Regions from separate parts of the Homo sapiens genome. Here region 2 is linked to region 1. Evidence: promoter capture Hi-C in 16 types of primary human blood cells and fetal thymus (Javierre and others, 2016). All regions are on one chromosome and are shown on one strand. Each heading gives the region's core, a stretch centred on a gene start or on the middle of the fragment in contact. The rest is flanking DNA. Distances are from core to core; before and after follow the strand shown.

What was found. Contacts are between HindIII fragments. The CHiCAGO score rates a contact against its expected background, and 5 or more counts as called.
Region 2: a contact is called between the fragment with the promoter of RBM44 here and the fragment with the promoter of KLHL30 in region 1, in 1 of 17 cell types (erythroblasts). The highest score is 5.1, in erythroblasts.

Annotation. Positions count from the first base shown.
Region 1 is chr2:238,134,632-238,139,981 of GRCh38, reverse strand. It overlaps KLHL30 (kelch like family member 30), which reads right to left and starts at 1,314. Exons shown (of 8, transcript NM_198582.4): 1 at 1,224-1,314. The HindIII fragment of the contact is 29,351 bases long and covers 1-5,350 here.
Region 2 is chr2:237,795,796-237,800,796 of GRCh38, reverse strand. RBM44 (RNA binding motif protein 44) reads right to left here and starts at 2,018. Exons shown (of 16, transcript NM_001080504.3): 1 at 1,936-2,018. The HindIII fragment of the contact is 5,628 bases long and covers 333-5,001 here.

The DNA of each region.
Region 1 (5,350 bases), core at 65-2,564:
CAGCCAAAGGCAGCGTTCTGGAGGGTTTCGCGTCACCACGCCCGCATGGTTGAAGTCAGCAAGGCCGCTTTCAGGCTCATGTAATTATGTGCATGTGGTTTATGTCCTTCTGGTATCGCACCCTAAGACAACCATCCCTAGGAGAGATCAAGTCTGTGCACAAGCCTTCGACCCGGGTCACCCCAGGGCGAAAGGCTGCGCAGCGGAGAGGCCGTTCGCCCGCTAGGGGGCGCCTCGCGGGGCCATCCCGGGCAGGAGAGGCGGCCGCGCGTCCACAGGTACAAAATGCGTGGGAACGCCACGCATGGAAATGACAAAGCTCAGCTGGAGAACCAGGAGGCCAAGAATCTGGCCCGGGCAGCCACGGTGCAGGTACAGGTGCAGGCGATGGGAGCTAGGGCTCCCCGACTTCCCGACCCCGGTGCCACCTCTTGACCCCAGAGCGGGGAAGCACCTGGGAGCCCACAGGGCCTCGCGGACCAACCCGGGCTCGCGCACAGGGCAGCTCACGTGGCCGGGGCCCCACACCCCAGCATCCCGGCCGGTACACGAAGTACCCACCCAACACTGCATGCATGGGGTTCCTGCCTGGCCCCTCCCCAGGAGGCGCTGGCCCCGGTGAAGGCGGCTCTGCCCTCCCTGGGCAGCCGGGAGATGAGCTGGGGCCTGAGTAGGTGACAGGGCTGTCCCTGGGCCACCGCCTGCAGGCCTCACATTCCCGTCATTGTTGTGCTCCCTTGGGCCAGCTGCTGCCGGGCGATGGGCAGGCACGCATGAGCGCCCCCACTTCCCCTGGGGGCCTCGGGGTGCCTGCTGACACCTGTCACCCTGCAGTCCCTGCATGGGTCGGGGCTTCCTGAGGGTCTCAGAGCCTCACCCCAGTGCCTGCCCAGGCCCGGAGTGAGGAAGCCGAGTGGGCAGGACAACAAAAGGCCTGAGCCCAGCCAGGCTGGCGACTGTGGCTGAGTGGCCCTGGCTGCCATCTGAGGGGTGGCCCAGCCTCCCCCTCCCACCTCTCCGGCTGGGACATGGAGGGAAACCTGTCTCCTGAGCCCCCACCCTGAGGAGCCTGGCTTGGCCGCTGGCAAGGGCCAGGGGGCGTCTCCAAAGCACCCTGCTGTGATCCCTGGCCTCGGGGGCCTAACCCACCCTCCCCGCTGCTCCTGGCTGGGTTCCCCCTGCCCTCTCTGCTGTCCCCTGCCCCAGAGCCCCCTGGATCCTACCTCTCACTCAGCCTGGACCTCGAAGCTGAGAACACAGACCCGAGAGAGCAGGACTGCCTAGCCGGCAGCCAGGGGACACGGAGGCCTGCAGGGCGGGGCAGGGCTGGTCTGGTGGCCACGTGGGGAGGGTATTTTTAGCCTCTGTCTGCAGGGCGAGGGGAGGGTCAGGCAGTGAGGGCTGGGCTGGTGGGGGAAGGAGTGAGATGCCGGCTCCTTGGTGACTGTTAGCTCAGAAAGCCCACTGAGGCCTTCCAGGGACTTGTGGCCTAGGACAGACATCAGGAAGGGCTCCAGGGCAAGGACAGGTGAAAGCTGTCGCGGTTGGGCTGGCTGGTGGGGGCAGGGATGCAGCTTCCCCACCTGTTTCCTCGTCTACAAGTTGAGTACAGTGGAGCCCGTGGTGGGGGCCTGGGGTCACAGAGACCCTCAGCCCAGGGCCAGGACACCGACAGGTGCTGCCCTCGCTGTTGATGTCAGCGGCACCTATGTGTCCTCTTGTTCTGTTGTCACGTGGGAAAACGTGATTATCATGAATAAGCACAGGTTGGTCAGCAGAGGCTTTCCGAGCTTGGGGTCCATGGTGGCGGTAGGGAAACTTTGCCCAGAGAGGGGAGGTGCCACACTCAGTTGCCCCGCCCAGCTAGCGTGGATAGGGGAGATCTTGGGGCTCCTTGCCCTGCTACCCCATGGCCTTGGCCTCGGGGCTGCCCAGGACGGCTAAGAAACAGGGTCACCTAAAAATACAGCAGTGGACTATCAGCCTCCCGTCCAGCACTTGGTTCACGGTAGTCGCAGGGGGAAGCTCTCACGCCTGGGACTGAAATGGGCTCAGAACCACAGGCCCTGACCAAGGTCAGGTGGGTTGAGTTGGGGACCCAAGAGGCCACTGGACATTTCTCACACCAGTGACCAGAGCAGAGCTTTGTGGCTGAGGGACTTCAGGTGCATGGGAGAGAAGCCCTCAGCCCTCAGCCCTCTACCCATCGGCCATGTGGGCCTGAGCAGTATGACCATTTCCAGGTGTGCTGCGACCTGGAGGAACTGGGGAGTATTGGGTCTGGCTGTGGCCTCTTGATGCTACTAGGGATTGTCCTAATGCTCTTACAGACCAGAGAGGTCCAGGCGGCCCCCAGGGAGACAGAACCCCACTCCTGGTCCTGAGATGCACACAGCCTATGGAGGGGAAGCTCACCTACAAATTACTGCCAAGTCTGCAAGGTGCCCTTAGGGTTACCTTCCATAGAGATTCCCTGAGTCCATGCTTCCTCTACAGCCCAGCCTGGCCCAGCCATAGCCCAGCCATAGCTCAGCCCAGCTCAGCTATTGCCCAACCATAGCCCAGCCATAGCCCAGCCCAGCTCAGCTATTGCCCAACCATAGCCCAGCCATAGCCCAGTCCAGCTCAGCTATTGCCCAACCATAGCCCAGCCATAGCCCAGTCCAGCTCAGCTATTGCCCAGCCATAGCCCAGCCATAGCCCAGCCCAGCTCAGCCATAGTCCAGCCGTAGCCCAGCCGTAGCCCAGCCCAGCCTGGCCCCTGCTCCTGCTCTTTCCCCTGCTCGTGTCCCACACTGTCCCAGGGTTTTTCCCCAGCCTTGGGCATCAGCCTCATGTTGTGTGGGGGACCCTCATGGAGGACCCCAACTCTCGCTGTGTCCAGGACCACTATGGGGTGGGCGCTAGAGTGTTGGGTTTCCGTACTGTCCCCCTTGTTTGCAGTCCTGGCTCGGGCTGGAGGAAATGAGGACAGGGGATTCTGATGACAGGCTGCTGTCACGGGGAGCTGGCTCTGCTCGGGGAACAGCACTGCTTGCCAAGTGTGGAGGCCTCACAGCAGCCGTCGTGGGGCTCGGAGCCCCAGCACCTCAGATGACAGGTCAGTCTGGGAAACTCAACACCGGGGGCGCAAAACAGATCCTCCATCAAGAGATTGCTACTGAGTGGCGCAGTTTTTAAAAATACACCACTTGTTTCTTTTTATGAGGATAAAAATAACACAAGTTCCTTTTGGAAAACAGAAAAATAAAAAGCAGAAAGTGTCATTAGTAAAAGATCATTTGCCATTAGTATGCTTCCAGCTCTTTCCTGTTGTCAAAATGAGCCTGCCTGCGTGTGTGGGTCAGCGCCCTTTCCTCACACCTTGTTATATTGTGGGCGTTTCTGATGGGATCAGCACTTGAAGATTTTGAATTTCTGCCGGGCATGGTGGCTCATGCCTGTAATCCCAGCACTTTGGGAGGCTGAGGCGGGTGGATCACCTGAGGTCAGGAGTTTGAGATCAGCCTGGCCGACATAGTGAAACCCCATCTCTACTAAAAACACAACAATTAGCCAGGAGTAGTGGCGGTGCACACCTATAGTCCCAGCCCGCAGACCCTCCCGCCCCAGGCCAGGCTTCCGATGACTGCAGTTGGGCTGAGCACTTCATGGGACCCTCCTGAGACATCCTGAGGTGCAGCCACCCCACACACGTGCTCCCGAGGAGAAACTGAGAGACGATGCGTGTGACCATGCGTGTGTGCTGTTCAAGGACATTGGATTTCAGGCAGTTGACTATGCAGCACTAGGTCACTAGTACAGCAGACAAAAACATGTAAACAGCAGAGCAATGGGGGGCTTCCATCTCAGATACGAAGATGTCATCATTACAGCGTAAAATGCCATCAAACAAGGTGGTTTTGACCCAAGAATAAACAAATCCCAACAGCCAATGCACAGAAAGCGGTGCCACGGCAAGTCCGCAGGGAAGGAGGGGCCGTCTGACGTGTGAGAGTGCTGGTGAAAGGGAAACAAGGTCAGCCCGATGGAACCCAGGCCCCAAATCACCCCAGATGGAGTGAGAGGTGCTGTGCAGGGCTGTAAGGCCCCCGAGAAGGGGGCAGACTGATATGCGGACCCAGCCTGGGACATCCTCACAGCTGGAAGGCCCCCAGCCCAGCAGAGGGGAGCTCACTCACACAGTTTTTTGTTTGTTTGTTTGTTTGTCTCTTTGGAGATGGAGTCTCGCTTTATCACCCAGGTTGGAGTGCAGTGGTGCAATCTCCGCTCACGGCAACCTCCGCCTCCTGGGTTCAAGCGATTCTCCTGCCTCAGCCTCCTGAGTAGCTGGGATTACAGGTATGCACCACCATGCCCAGCTAATTTTTCTGTATTCTTAGTAGGGATGGGGTTTCACCATGTTGGCCAGGATGGTCTCCTGACCTCAAGTGATCTGCCTGCCTTGGCCTCCCAGAGTGCTGGGATTACAGGCGTGAGCCACTGCACCCGGCCTTACAGATTTTAACTCGGTGATTTCACGCTCGGAATCCATTCTGAGGGAATAATCACACAGGTGACACCACCTTCATTGTAATAGTCCCAAATGGAAAACAGCCTGAGCGTCCACGAACAGAAGGAGGTTATCACTCCCAGCTTCACAAAGAGCAACGTCATCCTATTGAGATGAAATTGAAAATCTTTTTTGTTTTTGAGACAGAGTCTTGCTCTGTCACCCAGGCTGGAGTGCAGTGGCATGAGCTCGGCTCACTACAACCTCTGCCTCCCAGGTTCGAGCAATTCTGCCTCAGCTTCCCGAGTAGCTGGGATTACAGGTGCCCGCCACCACGCCCAGCTAATTTTTGTGTTTTTAGTAGAGACGGGGTTTCACCATGTCGGCGAGGATGATCTTGATCTCTTGACCTCGTGATCCACCTGCCTCAGCCTCCCAAAGTGCTGGGATTACAGGCGTGAGCCACCGCACCCGGCCGACATTGAATTTTTAAATGAGCTGGGCTTTGCATTAAGCCTGTGCACCGACATGCAGGGAGCCCGCCCCTCTGCACATTGACCCAGCTGCGAGGGAGAAGCTGGGGTTCCAGCACCGCCCTTGGGGAGGGTTTCTGTTTTTCCACATCTCCATCCTGCCATCTATGGACTGGGGACACGGGGCTCCCTTTCTCCTGGATGTTTCTGACTCATGGGAAGCCCCCAGGCTTTGCGCCTTTGCTTTGCGTGTGACCACCTCACTGACATCGGCACCTCCGGGGTGCTGTAGATTCCGTCTCTGGTCCTCAGTGAGTCTTTTGTCAATTGAACAACAGATTTATAGGCACCAAATGGGCCCTACAGCTGTGAGTGTGGTGGCGCA
Region 2 (5,001 bases), core at 769-3,268, 340 kb after region 1:
CGAGATCATGCCATTGCACTCGAGCCTGGGAAACAAGAGTGAAACTCCGCCTCAAAAAAAAAAAAAAAAGGATTGAGAGTCCCAAGGAGTATTTTTTTTTATTTGGGTAATATCCATCAATACTTACCATATTAGAAATTAAAGCAACATTTTCAAATATTTATTAATTTATTCATAGAAAATACATTCGTTACTTAAGTAAAATTTTAAATTAAAAACATATTTTCAAAAAATTGGTGAGAAGAGCAACACTATCTCAAGCTGGATTCTCATTCACATCTGATTCTACACTCAAATCTGCATTTAATGAAATCTGCAGTGTGCTGCAAGCTTCATTCTTAAATATGAAGACACCCAAAGTTAAAAACGTTTGCCAAAGAGAAAATTTTAGTATAACGGAAGTACTTGCAGATCATGTATGCGATAGAGGTCTATTATCTAGAATATAGAAAAAACTCTTACAACTGAACAATAAAAAGGCAAACAACCCAATATTAAGAATGAGCAAATGACTTGACAAAGAGGATATACAAATGGCCAATAAACACATGAAAATATGCTCAATTTATCAAGAGTCATGAAGGAAATGCAAATCAAAACCAAAAGATATCACTTCACACCCACTAGGATGACAATAACAATAACAGTAACAACAGTGTTGAGCAGGTCATGGAGAAATCAGAACCTTCATCCATTGCCGATGGGAATGTAACATGGTGCAGCCACTCTGGAGAAGTCTGGCACTTCCTCAGAAAGTTAAACACAAGACAACCACATGATCCAGCAATTCCACTCCTAGGTACATGCCCATTTTTATTATTTTCTTTGAGTTCTCACTTACCGAACTATTTCCTCCAGTGCACGAAACTCCAGGGAATGGTATCGCCAGAAACCACAGGACTCGCCCTTGACACCTCCCTTATCCCTGAGGTCTTGTCAATTTTAACTCCTGACTCTCACAGCTATGCAGACAATCACCTCACATCTGGCCAGAATAATCTTTCTAAAATGCTTATCGAATCAGTTACGCTCCTGCTTAAAACTCAGCAACGGACTGTCACTGTTTTCAGACAGATTAAAATCTGAATAAGTCCTGTAAAACCCTACAACGGTCCGGGCTCTGTGTTAGCCTTGGCACTTGGTGTCTTCCAGATACACCCTCCTTTCCATTTCCTTAAAAAGTCAGGCCCTGGCCGGGCGCGGTGGCTCACGCCTGTAATCCCAGCACTCTGGAAGGCTGAGGCGGGATGATCACGAGGTCAGGAGATAGAGACCGAGATCGAGACCATCCCGGCTAACACGTTGAAACCCCGTCTCTACTAAAAAAATGCAAAAAGTCAGGCCCTGTGCGTTCTCTCGCCTGCCCACCCCCTACCCCACCTTGAGTTCACGCTCAACTTCAGATCTCATCTTAAATACGCGCTTCTTAGGGAAACCGTCCGGGCACCTCACACTAGGTCAGGAGCTGGCGCCGTCCTCCAGGGCGTCCTACGCGTCGGTCAGGGGCACACACGCCTGAGTACGGAACGAACTTCACGTCCCCCTCTCGCTAGAGTCCCCGCCCCGCAGCAGAGGCTCCATCAGTCTCCACGGCAAGAAGAAGCATATGTGCGAATTTCTAGCTTTCCCCGGGGACATAACCAAGTTTGGGAGACCGGCCCCGCGACTTCGTTCGAGAACGACTTTTGCGGTGTCGGCGCCCGCTATGAGGGCGCCGGAACTCCAGTGCCGCCCAAGGAACGCGCCAGTCCCCCGCCCGCCTCGCTGGCCTCGCCTACACCGCCGTTCGGAGTCCCCGCGTGCTTCAGCGGGACGGGCCTCGCCGCCGGGACCGGCCACACGCGGGGTTCGCCAACCCCGACCGCTCAAGCCCATGGCCTCGCCCTCGCCGGCTTCGCCGCCCGACCTGCCGCCCCGCGTCTCTGTCCGTCGCACCTCGGATCCGCTAGAAAGCCGCCGCCGCTGCCGCCTCCACGGGCCAGCGCCCCGCTCTCCGCAGCCGCCTCCGAGTCAGTGGCGCCACCGGAGCAGCCGCGGCGCCTGTTGGGTAACAGTCACCAGCGGCCCGCCCACCGCCTGTCGGGCAGTATGAAAAGTGCGGCACTGTGATTGGCCCAGCCTGTGGGCGCGAAAGCGCGGGAAGGAGGCCGCCTGCTTGAATGTTGCACGACGTAGAAGAGATTGTGGGCGTCTGTCTTGGAGCGCAGAGCGGCCCCCAAGACTTTCCCGCTTTGCAGCCTGAAACCCTCGTCTGGACCGCGCAGCTCTGCAAAGTCACCATATGAAAATACTTGGAAGCGCTGCTTCTGCCAGCAGAGGCCAGACTGCCCCTCGCTTGGGTCCGGTGCAGGCCGAGTCCTCCGCCCTCAGAGGCGGGACAGGGGCCCGGCCTCCTTGCCGAACTGTTTCCCAGGCCGCGTGGTCCCTCCCGGGGTTTGGCTTGTCCTCTGCCCATCTTCTAGAAATACCGTTAGCAGGGTCGGGCCGCGACTAGGGTGAGGCCAGTGAGGCATTTGTCATGAGCACAGGATTTCAGAGGCTGCCAAAATAGCAATCAAGATAAATAATATTTTAATGCAGTCTCTAAAAAAAGTCAAAAGTAATGAAAAAATTCAGTCCTATTTTTTCCTTTCGCCTCAGACTCTTAAAATGGCTCCACAGGGTACATTGTTACTGGTCCTGTCTTTATTTAAAATTTGAATATTCTGGGCTGGGCGCGGTGGCTCACGCCTGTAATCCCAGCAGTTTAGGAGGCCAAGGCAGGTGGATCACCTGAGGTCAGGAGTTCGAAACCAGCCTGGCCAACATGGCGAAACCTCGTCTCTACTAAAAACACAAAAAATAGCCGGGCAGGTGTGGTCGTGGACGCCTGTGATCCCAGCTACTCGGGAGGCTGAGGCAGGAGAGTCGCTTGGATCCAGGAGGCGGAGGTTGCAGTGAGCTGAGATCACCCTGTTGCACTCCAGCCTGGATGATGACAGAGCAAGACTCCGTCTCAAAATAAATAAATTAAATTAAATTAAATTTGAATATTTTATTATGGATTTTTTGCATTAATTTCGATTTTTTAAAAGATTGCATTAAAAGATTACTGAGTTTTTGCATCCCCTCCCCTGCCCCCCATGTTTTGTGCCTAGTCTTATCCTTGATAGGGAATTTAAACCTGTATAAAATGACACAGTCCTGAAGGGGTGGGGACAGGATAGAGCTGCAGGTGGCTTCATTTGCTTATTAGTCTAAACATGCACTTGATTGTTGGGCCACGGAGGACTTTGGATAGGTGGCAGATAGAGGAGGGGCTCTAAAACTGCACCTACCCCCAAATTATCCCCTCAAATGAGGCTGCAGTCTCTGAAATGCACTTCATTCATTCATTCATTCATTCATTCTGCAGATTGCTATTGGCCTGCCAGGGGCCAGGGGCTGAGGGTGCAGTGGTGGACAGTGGACCGTGAGCATGGATCTTGGGATAATGTAATACACTTATCGCAAATCTTGCCATTACCAAAAGTGCTTTCAAGTGTCTTTTAAAGTGATATGGCCTGTCCTTTTACAGTGGATTTCATTTAGAAGTCCCTATGTTATTGGAAGTTAACGCCAGTGGCTGGAGAGGGCGGCCACGGCAGCAGCAGGCCAGAGCTGCTGATGAGATTATGAGGTCTGGCCTCTGTTATAGAAAGGGGTTCAGATTGAGGCTCACATTAGAAGGCTGGACACTCTCCCCTGGGCTGCTGGGCAGATGGCATCTGGAGCAGGACTGGGCCATGGTGACCCTGGAAGGGGTGGCTCTGGAAGTGTGTCTGTGGGCCAGCAGCCCTGATGTCAAGACAGCTGGAAACCACGTTCTACTCTAGACCCTTGGCGTTTCTCCTTTGACTGCTCCACCACAGTTAGAATTTTGAGAAATTCCTCTCTGAACAGCCATTTGCCAAATGCTCATTTCACTGTTAGTCTCCTCTCCACCCTGTGGGTGGGTACAACACAGAAAGAGTCAAATCTTTCATTTATCAACCTTTTAAACCATCGAAGACAGTGATCATGCCATCCTTAGGGAGGATTATTGGGATTCAGGGAATAGAGATGAAATGTTGTGTTATGAGTGGATGGGCTGAGCACAGACATCACATGTGTCACCAGGCTACAGAAAAGGTAAGCTGTGCCGGACAGTGATGCTGTGCTTACAGGCAAGCCACTGAGCAGGTGGCAGGAGGGGCTGCCGGTTGTTGGCAGGGAGGCGGGTTGAAGGGCAAATGGGCTGTTTGCATGAGACACACCAAGCCTCCTGCTACGGCAAGGGGAAGAAACATTCCCACTTAAGTGACCTCAGCTGTTTTTGTTTAACTGTGGGATCCAGTGTCCTTGTTTTGCCTTCCTCTGGGCCCTTTGAGGTGTTTTGTTTTGTTTTGTTTTGTTTTCGAGACAGCCTTGTTCTGTTGCCCAGGCTGGAGTGCAGTGGCACAATCTCGGATCAATGCAGCCTCCACCTCCCCAGTTCAAGCGATTCTCCTGCCTCAGCCTTCCAGTAGCTGGGATTACAGGTGCCTGCCACCACGCTCAGCTAATTTTTGTATTTTTAGTGGAGATGGGGGTTCCACCATGTTGGCCAGGCTGGTCTCGAACTCCTGACCTCAAGTGATCCACCCGCTTCGGCCTCCCAAAGTGCTGGGATTACTGGCTTGAGCCACCGCGCCTGGCCTCTTTGAGTTTTTTTTGACACTGTCTCCAGATACTCCCCATTGGCCCTAGGGCATGGGACCCTTGCTCTTCTTGGTCAGAGTTTCCTGTGTCTGTGTATGGAGCTAGTGGTTCTGCCTTTTCTGCCAGGCAGCTCTGCCACGTTTGGACTTACGTAATTGATTTGGGGATTATATTGTTTTGATGTGAAATTTTACATTTTTATGAAATCCATCAGTCTCTTGGCTGGGCGGGGTGGCTCACGCCTGTAATCCCAGCACTTTGGGAGGCTGAGGCGGGTGGGTCACGAGGTCAGGAGATTGAGAG